Regions from separate parts of the Homo sapiens genome. Here region 2 is linked to region 1. Evidence: promoter capture Hi-C in 16 types of primary human blood cells and fetal thymus (Javierre and others, 2016). All regions are on one chromosome and are shown on one strand. Each heading gives the region's core, a stretch centred on a gene start or on the middle of the fragment in contact. The rest is flanking DNA. Distances are from core to core; before and after follow the strand shown.

Evidence for each region. Contacts are between HindIII fragments. The CHiCAGO score rates a contact against its expected background, and 5 or more counts as called.
Region 2: a fragment that was not itself captured here is called in contact with the fragment with the promoter of ATRX in region 1 in 3 of 17 cell types (total CD4 T cells, non-activated CD4 T cells and activated CD4 T cells); the score reaches 6.0 in total CD4 T cells.

The regions. Positions count from the first base shown.
Region 1 is chrX:77,783,549-77,789,096 of GRCh38, forward strand. ATRX (ATRX chromatin remodeler) reads right to left here and starts at 2,668. Exons shown (of 35, transcript NM_000489.6): 1 at 2,434-2,668. The coding sequence starts at 2,453. RefSeq lists a silencer at 2,282-2,331 and enhancers at 2,432-2,541, 2,552-2,741. The HindIII fragment of the contact is 7,766 bases long and covers 1-3,480 here.
Region 2 is chrX:77,657,218-77,662,765 of GRCh38, forward strand. The region is part of intron 12 of ATRX (ATRX chromatin remodeler); the gene reads right to left. Among named protein-coding and RNA genes, the nearest start is that of ATRX, 130 kb to the right of the region's middle. The HindIII fragment of the contact is 1,436 bases long and covers 1,486-2,921 here.

The sequences.
Region 1 (5,548 bases), core at 1,418-3,917:
GAACTAGTCTTTGTTCCTGCTTTTTAAGTGCTTGACAAAATATTTGATAAAGAGAAAATCTGGAACTACTGTGTAAAATAATATTAACAATAATGCTTATATTATTTCTGCCTCACATTAGAAAAGACTCAAGAGGGATTTGGTACTGTGGGTTCAACTCAAGCATTACCTGTCAGATTCTCCTTTAACCATGATTATGGTTTAGGAGATCGATGACACTTCAGCCTGAGACAGTTCTGAACACCTACTTGGAGCTCTTTCATAGTAAATCATCAGGGAGTGTCACACTTTTTAATTAATTCCCTACATGCATATATGCAGTTCTTTACTAGAGGTTTTTCATGTAGCTTAAGACTCTCCTAGCATTAAATATTTCAGTTATCTCACTACATAGTACACCTGGACACAAAAAATGTAACATTATAAACAGCTACAAAATCATAGACCTGCAACAAATCAGAGTAGGTAATATGAACTTCTTTCATTGTAACACTTGGGCTAAATTTAAATGGTCATAATCAGGTTAGACCTGGCAGCTGAAGGGGGCATTAATGCCTTGTGGTTAAGAACATAAGCTGTGAAGTCAAGATGGGGTTCAATTCCAGCTCCACCAATTACAAGCTGTATAACTTCGGTCAAGTTCTTGATCTATGTCTCACTTTCCTCCTCATCGGTAAAATGGGCAAAACCAAGTACTTACCTCACAGGTTTGAGAATTCATCAAGATTATAAAGAACGACAATAAGCACTCAACTTAGTTATGATTATTACTCTTATCATCAAGATCTACAAAAATCCAAGACTAGTAAGAAAAACTGACCCTTGTGTAAAATTAATTATTCTATTCAGAAATTCTATATACGTAATTTGTTCATTCTAAAGAAACTGAGAAGATCCGACTTCAAACTATAGTTTCAAATGTAGACTTTGTGAAACTTAGTAAAATCTAGAGGTCATAATTTAACTGTAAGGTACACCATCCATGCATATGAACATGAGTGCCTGGTAATTACAGGCCAACAAGTTATACTGGGTACCACTTACGTGCCTAATACCCCACAGATAAAGATTTGTTGTATTTGAGCCTACTGACAAATTCAGAAACCAAGGCCACAATCGTGTACACAACTAGAGATCTACAATCTAAGAACTGAAGCATATCTTTCCCCAAGGTAAAGAAAATATAATCTACTGCTTGTTCATGCAGAAATACAGACATACGTATCATAGGCTCATTGCCCAATTCTACATTCTAGCTAAATTGCTCTAAAAACATATGCCAATCTAAGAGTTACTCAAAGGCACATTTCGCCAACTTGAAATGCAATTCTGACCCATGCTCCTTGTAATTTTATTTTGCCACTGGACGCCAAGGATGCATCTCCGAGTAAAAAAATTACTTAATTCACATTGTGGGATGAAAATTCAAATGTCAAACTGAAACGCCAGCCAGCCACCTGGGTAAAAGTGTATACATTTCATATTGACTACCCAAATTTTCAGACCCGTCAAGAGGCAAATCAGAAGCACACAGAAAAACAGCTTCAACCTAATAAACGTGCTTGATTGGTTAAGAGGAGGCCTGCCAGGCATTTTCCCTTGCAATAAATCTTACTTCGCATCAGCCCACGTTAACCTGCCCTTCATCCTTCATGGAATAAATAAGTAAATAAAGATAGGGCCTAATTACTCCTCGAAATTTGCCCAGAAAGTGGGGAAACACTTGAGGTCCCATTAAGGCTGGACATCACAAAAAGTAGTATACTAGGGTCCTCTGGAAGCAAAACCCTGTGTTAAGTCCCCCCTCGCCTAGAAATAAACCCAAGGATATCCTTCAGGATATGGAGTAGAAAAGATACCTAAATACCTGGAACTGCACCACAACCCAATCAAAAAAAGGCTTGTCTCCTGGGGCTGCAGAAAAAAAATCCCGCAGGGCCCGGGTGCTTCCCATCTCCAGCAACCTAAACGCCTCTAAGTCGTCCTGGGATCTCACATCCTCGCGCCCGCCCACCCCTCCCCCTCTTCTCACCCTCCCCCCGCTTCTTCCCCACGCAGTTTCTAGGCCCAAAGATTAGCAAAAATGACCGGGATACCAAAGACCGCCTCCGACTTCGAGGTCTCAATCCCACAGGCACCAAAGAATAAACAGAGGAGCCCGACCAAGCGTCACCGTTTAGGGGAGATTGCAAGAAGCGCCCCATACCCTAGGCCGCGCCCCCCCCACCTCCCCCCACCCCATCCCCACCCCCACCCCCGTCGGAGCCTTGCGCCGATACCCCGAAACCCTTCTCACCTAAAGAGAAAACGATGCCTCTTTCGGCTAAGCAACACACAGGCCTAACCCACCAAGCGAACGCCTTCCCAAACACCCGACTCAGACGGTGCCTGGGCCCAGACCGCTGGGGCCCATGAGACGGGGTTGCGTTTTACCTCATGGGCTCAGCGGTCATGTTTTCGCTTGAACGCCTTGTCGGCTTCTGTGATTGCTGGGCGCCGATCTGCGCTCCCCCGCGCCCGGTTACGATAGAAATGCACTGGAGTCTTAGTCGTCACTGTAGCTGCTGCTGGAACCTCCCCACAGCTCAAAGGCCGCTACCACTGCCACCGCCGCAGGAGCCGCGGAAACAAAGCGACACCGCTGCCGCCGCCATTTTGTTGGGCCGAGGCTCAGGCAGGAGAATTGGCGCGTCCTCCCTCTTTCTCTTTCCGTCAGCCATTGGCTACCTCCTCCAAAGCACAGAGTCTTATTGGCTACGGAAATTCACCTTCTTTGGGGGCCTGTTGCTAAGGCGGTCGACGTCATTTGATCCCCTCCACCTTTTCGCAGGGGGTCCAATTTAGTCCCAATTGACCTGAAAGTGCTAGTGACATAGTTTGACTTTATTTTGAAAATGCTCTTTTGGTCCAACCTCTTTTTTCTTTGACATATTAACGAAGTAATAACAGCAACCTACATTTATTGAGAGTTTACTATATGCTCGGCACTACACTAATCCTTTATCCGGGTTATCTCATTTAATCTTTACACTCTCTGAGGTAGACAAACCTACATTTTCCAGATGAGGAAACCAAGACACAAAGTCCCACAGTAGTGGAGCCGAGATTCACCAGACACTCTTAACCACTAATCTGTATGGCCATCCTATGTAAGTATTTTCTTTCCTATATGCTAGGCTATCATCAAGTTATTTGCTTTCCTAGATGTTTTATACATAATATTTGGCACACCAACATGCTTGGAAATGTATATGTGTATAATATACTTATATATATGTATATGTGTGCAGACGACATAAGACCAACTTGAACGCTGCATAAAATTCTTTCCATATTGAATAAAGTGTCTCTTAGAATACACACACACACACACACACACACACACACACACACACACACACGGGCCATTTCCCCAATTTGATGTGATGTTTAGCTCACAAACCAATCAATTTAGATCTGCTTCCTTCTCATTACAGAGGAAGCTTGGCTGGATGATCTGTAAATGCCTTTCCCGCTTTTATGATCTATAATTTGATTTTACATTGGTAATCTCTGCTAATCACAAACAAGTCCTCTAAAATCTAATCGCTTCGAAATTTATTTCCAAATTTATTCTGCCATGCATGCTTTAGTTCATTCTATTTATTTTTCTTGAAATATGCAAGAGCTCCTGTCGGGGTTAGGTGACAGGGTTGCTGCTTTCTACTGGGATAGCAAGAGGGGAGCCTTTTTTGAATGAAACACTTTGAAAATCTGATAGGCTCAGGCAACTTTTTTTTTTTTTTTTTCTGAGACAGGGTCTAGCTCTGTCACCCAGGCTGGAGTGCAGTGGCGTGACGCAGTTCACTGCAGCCTCGACCTCCTAGGCTCAAGCAATCCTCCCACCTCAGCCTCTCAAGCAGCTGGGACTGCAGGCGCGTGCCATCAAGCCCAGCTAATTATGTATTTATGTATTGGTATAGATGAGGTAGGTCTGTCTGTTGCCCAGGCTGGTCTCAAACATCTAAGCTCAAGCCATCCTCCAACCTCGACCTCCCAAAGTGCTGGAGTTACAGGGGTGAGCCACCGCGCCTGGCCTCAGGCAACTTTTTAATCAACAGACGCCTGTACACATTGCAATTATATCTTTCAAATGTTTGAGTTCAGTTGGCAATTATAGAAACCAGACCTCTGTACCTGCTATACTGATTTTGTCTTGTACACATTAAATATCATTTCAACATACAATTTACAGGAGTCATTTTTTTCTCCTTGGTAAATGCAGTGAATTTGAATGATGTACTCCATCACAAGGCAGCACAGAAATGTGCTTGCTGTTCAACTGACTTCACTATGAGAAAAATAGTAAATAGTCAACATGTTACCAGGTTATTGGCGTTTCGAACAAGGAATTGGACAAAATGCACAAAGCAAGGAAAGAATGAAGCAACAAAAGCAGAGACACGTTGAAAATGAAAGTACACTCCACAAGACTGCAGGAGCTGCCAGAGCACAGGGGCTCAAGACCCCCATTACAGAATTTTCTGGGATTTAAATACTCTCTAGAGGTTTTCCATTGGTTACTTGGTGTACACCCTATGTAAATAAAGTAGTGGCCCGCAATCAGAGGCTAAAGTGAAGTTACAAGGGTCACACCCTATGCAAGCATCTAATTGGTTGTGGACAGCAACCAATCAGAGGCTAAAGTGAAGTTACAAAGTTACACTGCTATACAAACATCTGCTTTCTGCAACCAATCAGAGATACTTTCAGTTTTCCATCTGCCAAGCGGAAAAGGAAGAGGATTTGCAAAGGGAGTAGTCTTTTTGTTACTTAGGTGTGGAAAGTTGGGGTTTTCCTTTTGATTCAGTTCTAGGAAGTCAACTTTACTCAGCCTTAGGTTCCCTGCCTCCAAACCCTATTCTCCTGCCTCACATTATTTTTAAATGAATTGAAATTATTAAGGTAGAAACTAGCTGTTGCTGAGAGACTTCTCAACACTAAACAGCTTTAAATGACAAGTCTCACAAAAGAAACTTAATAATAAAACTATAATCACAATTTGTTTTTGTTTTGTTTTGTTTTGTTTTGTTTTTGAGATGGAGTCTCGCTCTTGTAGCCCAGGCTGCAGGCTGGAGCGCAGTGGCATGATCTCGGCTCACTGCAACCACTACCTCCCAGGTTCAAGCGATTTTCCTGCCTCAGCCTCCCTAGTAGCTGGGATTACAGGCACCCACCACCACGACTAACTAATTTTCATATTTTTAGTAGAGACGGGGTTTCACCATGTTAGCCAAGCTGGTCTTGAACTCCTGACCTCAGGTAATCCACCCGCCTCGGCCTGCAAAAGTGCTGGGATTACAGCCATGAGCCACCATGCCAAGCAATCATAGATTTTTTAAATTTTAATTTTGTTTTGAGACAGGGCCTCACTTGGCCTCCCAGGCTGGAGCATAATGGCGTGATCATGGGTCACTGCAGCCTCGACCTCCCAAGCTCAAGTGATCCTCCCACCTCAGCCTCCCAAGTAGCTACAACTGCAGGCCTAAGCCACCACAGCCCGGCTAAT
Region 2 (5,548 bases), core at 954-3,453, 130 kb before region 1:
TTCCAAAGGTATGCAGACGGTACTGACAACAAGACTGTGAAGAAAAATCCCTATTTCTAGCCACAACACCAGGAAAATCAGGCTCTACATGTGGAATCCTCAATTTTCTTTTTCTCACAATTAACACAGTAATGGAAGCATATAAAATTCCAGGAGAAAACCTCTTTCTGGCCAGAGGAAGCAGGGCAGAAAAAAATACAAGATAAGCTTACAACATCTTATAGTGCCAGAAAACAAAGCAGTGTTCAAACATGGGCAGGCACATGTTGAAAGGACACAAGATTCAACTTGAAGGAGCTCCCAACAACCAAAGCTAGAACAATTTGAGCAATAAAATAAATGATACTATTTGATTATAACTGGTAAAATAAAAATCTATAAGTCATATTGATATAAATAATGCAATAAATAAATAGGGGAAAACAAATCTCCCTTACAATTACTAAATGTGGAAGTAATGAAATAAATAGAAAATTACAACTAGGCAAATACCACAGTACTAACTGCTTCACCCAAGATGCATACTAAAATTAGTGGGCTTAAGTATGATAAGAAACAGGATATATGCATGGTCACAAAGTATCTCCCAACAAAATACTAAATATAGATAGAAAAATAATATTTTCTTCTTTACAGTGGAAAAATACCAGCAGACACCAACTTAAGCAAGTAACAAAAGTTAACCGTGAGAGTAATAAGACATATTGACGGCTGGGCATGGTGGCTCACCCCTGTAATCCCAGCCCTTTGGGAGGCCAAGTTGAGAGGATCACTTGAGCCCACGAATTTGAGACCAGCCTGGGCAACATAGGGAGATTCTGTCTCTACAAAAAAAATTTAAAAATTAGCCAGGCATGATGGTACACACCTGTGGTCCCAGCTACTTGGGAGGCTGAGACGAGAGGATCACTTGAGCCCAGGAGGTTGAGTCTGCAGTGAGCCATGATCGCACCACTGTACTCCAGCCTGGGCAACAGAGCGAGGTCTTCTCTCAAAAAAAAAGACATACTGACATCATCTATTCTTGATATCATGCACTGAAGACACAACATCACTTCTGTGGTATTCTGTCAAAATGCATAATAATCTCAATTCGATCATGAGAAAACATTAGACAAATATATATCAAGGAACAGTTGAGAAAATAAGGAATCAACACTCCACAAGTGTCAAGGTCATCAAAGTAAAGACTGAGGAATTGTCACAGGCTGAAGTAGATTAAGGAGACATTATAACTCGATGCAATGTGAGATCCTGGATTGAATCATAGAGCAGAAAGAAAACATTAGTGGGAAAACTAATCTCTGAATAAGATCTATAGTTTACTTCAGAGGTCATAAAACATTTTATGTAAAAAGTTTGATAGTAAATATTTTTGACTTGTGGACCGTATGGTCTCTGTTGCAACTACTCATCTCTACTCAACTTTGCCATTGTACATATGTGAAAACAGTAAATTAATGAATATGGCTGTGTTTCAATAAAAGCTTATTTATAAAAACAGGCAGAGGATCAGATTTGGCCCACAGGTGCAGTTTGTAAACCCCCGGCTTAGTTGATAGTATTGTACCAATATTAATTTCCTGGTTTTGATCATGGTACTATGATAGGGTATTAAATCAGGGAAGCTAGGTGAAAGATACACAGAACTCTGCACTATTTGTGTAACATTTCTGTAAATCAAGAATTGTTTCAAAATAATTTTTTAAAAAAATCTATCATAACCTGAGATCAGAATCAAAGATCTATTCCAGCTTTTTAAAAAATGAGAGAACATAAATGCTAACAGAAATGCTATAAATGGGAGAACATAAATGCTATAAAGAAATGTCGGGGGAGAGGGGAACAAAGAGTTATTGTTTAATGGTTAAAGAGATTCCATTTGGAATGACGACACGTTTTAGGGACAGACAGAAGTTATGGTTGTATAAAAATGTGAATGTACTTAATGTCACTGAATCATACACTTAAAAATGGGTAAAATGGTAAATTTTATGTTACATATATTTTACCACAATAATAAAAAAAAAGAATAGCTAAGCAACTGGAAAGCTGGGAGAATACCAAAAACACACACACTGACACAAAAAAATCCTGTAATTAAGTATAATTTTAAGCCTAGTATTAATTGTTCACCCAGCATTTTAAAATTTTTGAAATCTACCAAAAATTTGAAAGAATTATTGAATGAACACTTGTATCCCTTCTCCTAAATTCACTTATTGTTAGCAGTTTACCACATTTGCTTTTTTTCTTTCTCTCTCTACACACACACACACACACACACACACACACACACACACACACAGGCAGACACAACTTTTCTTACACTGAACCATGTGATATTAAGCGCGGATGACACTTTACCCCTAAGCATAAGGATACTGCCCTACATAACTAAATACCATTATCACATCTGAAAAAAAAATTACTATCATCTAATATGAAGGCAATATTTACAATTTCAAATTGTCACTAAAATAATTTTGTAACATTTTTCTAATTTAGGAGAAAATTAGAGTTCACATGTTGCACTTTGTTCTTATACCTCTTCAATGCATTTCAATTTAATTCAACTAGATTTAATAAGCAGACTATTCACTACTGATTTTTTCCCATCTCTCAATTCAAATTTCCAAATAATATAGGAACATTAGAATTTACAAAACTCAGAAAATCATGCAACTTCAACTATATATCAACCACTATGATCACAATCCATATTAGAAACACAAATATGATGAGATTTTAGAAGTTTACTCTCTCCTACACAAACAAAAAACAACAACAACAAAACCACTTGGGTAATAAATTACCCACAGAATCAGGCTGTAGAAACACAGATCACAGAAAACTCAGGTTTTAATAAAGCAAATCTCAAATGTAATCATATATATTAAAAGGGTCTATATATTGAACTAAGCTTCAGAAGCAAAATCAATATTGCCCCTTTTGTTGAAGAGGCACAGGAATCCATGTTGTGATATATAACATGCTAAATCACACAGTTCCTTTATAGAATCTGTAAGAGCTTGCAGCCATATTGCAAAGAAATTTATAAGACAAGCTGGGCGCAGTGGCTCACGCCTGTAATCCCAGCACTTTTGGGAGGCCGAGGCGGGTGGATCACGAGGTCAGGAGATCGAGACCATCCTGGCTAACACGGTGAAACCCTGTTTCTACTAAAAATATAAAAAATTAGCCGGGCATGGTGGTGGGCGCCTGTAGTCCCAGCTACTAGGGAAGCTGAGGCAGGAGAATGGCATGAACCCGGGAGGCAGAGCTTGCAGTGTGAGCCGAGATCGCGCCACTGCACTCCGGCCTGGGCGACAAAGCAAGACTCCGACTCAAAATAAATAAATAAATAAATAATAAAAATAAAAAAATAATAATAATAAAAAAGAAATTTATAAGACAAGTAGTCACAAAATGATGTACTATTATTTATTAACATTAAAATGTCCATGACATATTAATTGTATATGTGTGTGGCAAGAACTTCTCCCCCTCATCTTTAGTGAATAACTCTTGCCCAAAAGCCCTATAAATGTTTAGGATTCCAAGACTATGTCCTTAGCTTTCCATTTGTAAAACATTACAACTCCACTGAATAACCTCAACTATTTCTGTGATATTGTACATACACCATGACAACTCTAAAAACCTGACACTCATTGTAGACTTTTCCCTTTCATACCAATTAAGAAGACCTAACAATTCAACCTCCTATAAGACTCAAGTCAATCTTCCTCTTCTCCAACAACCCCATTTGTCATCAACTACAGCAATACCTTCCAAACATTCAGTGCCTTCATTCTCACTGAATAGTAAGGAACTAATCTGATCATATGATATCTTTGATTAAAATCTTTCAATAGGGAAAAAAGTGGTCATGCTGAGATTGTGATTCTTGGGTGTTAGTAATCAACATCTTGTTCCTTGATCTGGGTGCCCTACGTTTTCATCAAGATGTCTACTTATTGATAATGTGCACTTCTTTGTACATACATTTCAAATAAAACATTTTTTAAAGTGGTGGTAATCCTCTATGATTATACTAAAAACTGCTAAATTGTATACTGTAAATGGTGAACTGTGTGGTTTGTGAGTTATATCTCAATATAGCTGTTATACAAAAAATTTAAAAATAAGGCCGGTACGGTGGCTCACGCCTATAATCCCAGCACTTTGGGAGGCCGAGGTAGGTGGATAACCAGAGGTCCAGAGTTCAAAAATAAATACAGTAATTGAAAAAAAAAAAAAAACTTTTCAATGGCTCTGCATCCTTTAGAGCCTATTATATTTCCCAAACACTTGCAAAAATGCGTTCCTATTCCCAGTTGGCAAAGAAGAGTTCATCTGCCATCCATGGGTTGGGTACTAACAACAGTCTTCAAAATTTACCCCTAGTCATCAAAAAGCCCACCACAGCAACAACAAAAAAATTCTTTGAACTTTTTGTTACCCAAAATTCGCAGGCAAATATCACATTTAATTACCCAATATATATTATTTAACATAAAATGACCTTCCCCAAACCTCAAATTATAAATAGAGACACCAAAGAGATGTACACCTTGGTATACCACCCAGTACTCCAGTGTGAAAAACACAGGCTTACAAAGATCTCCAGTATCTGGTCTCTGTTTTACAGGCCCAGCTTCATCCCCTGTTGTTCCTTTCCCTACTCCTATCTATAGAGCAGCTTATACTATATTAATTGTATCCCATCCATCATGTGCCAACATTTTACACAGGTTTTAAAATTTTTTTCCCTGCTTGTGTTGTAAATCTTCACAACAATCTACGTGCTCCCACATTTTGAATTTAATCTGTTGGGTAAAAGCCTTCTTTGTGAAGCCTTCTCTGGGGTAACTCCTACCCCTCAAGAAGCTAAAGAAGCCCTTCTTTGTGCCACATTATATAATTACGTTACACAAAATGTCCCTCATGGTGCTATAATTTTTTTATAATACAAAGGTCAATAATTCTTACTAAACCAGTGACTGCCAAACCTAGTTACCTATCAGAATCACTGAGATACATTTTTATTCATTTTTGTATCCTCAATGCCCACCATACTGCTGGAAACATGTAAGCCCTCAATGCAAAAGGACTCAGGCTTTTAATGAAATGGAAATCTACTCTGACTATATGCCAGTCAAGTTCTGCATATAAGCTTGCATAAATTTACCCAAATTAATTTCATTTTCTACCCTTCTACAGGAAAGCACTAATTCTGCAGTTGTATGCAATCTTATACTTTCTACATAATGTTTTATTTATTAAATCATATTTATTTCTCTTTATAATCTAAAGGTTAAAAATATTCTTTGTGTCATCTAAAGTTTCTGGGTTATCTTCCCACTCTAAATTATTAATTTTAATCTCATGTGATAGTATACTTGTTGCCAGTGTACTGACATTTGCTTAATATAAGTGGTCAACTGTTTGAGCAGATATGCTTAAATTTTTTTTTTTTTATTTTTCTTGGAGAAAGAGTCTCGCTCTGCCGCTCAAGTTGGACTGCAATGGCGCAATCTCAGCT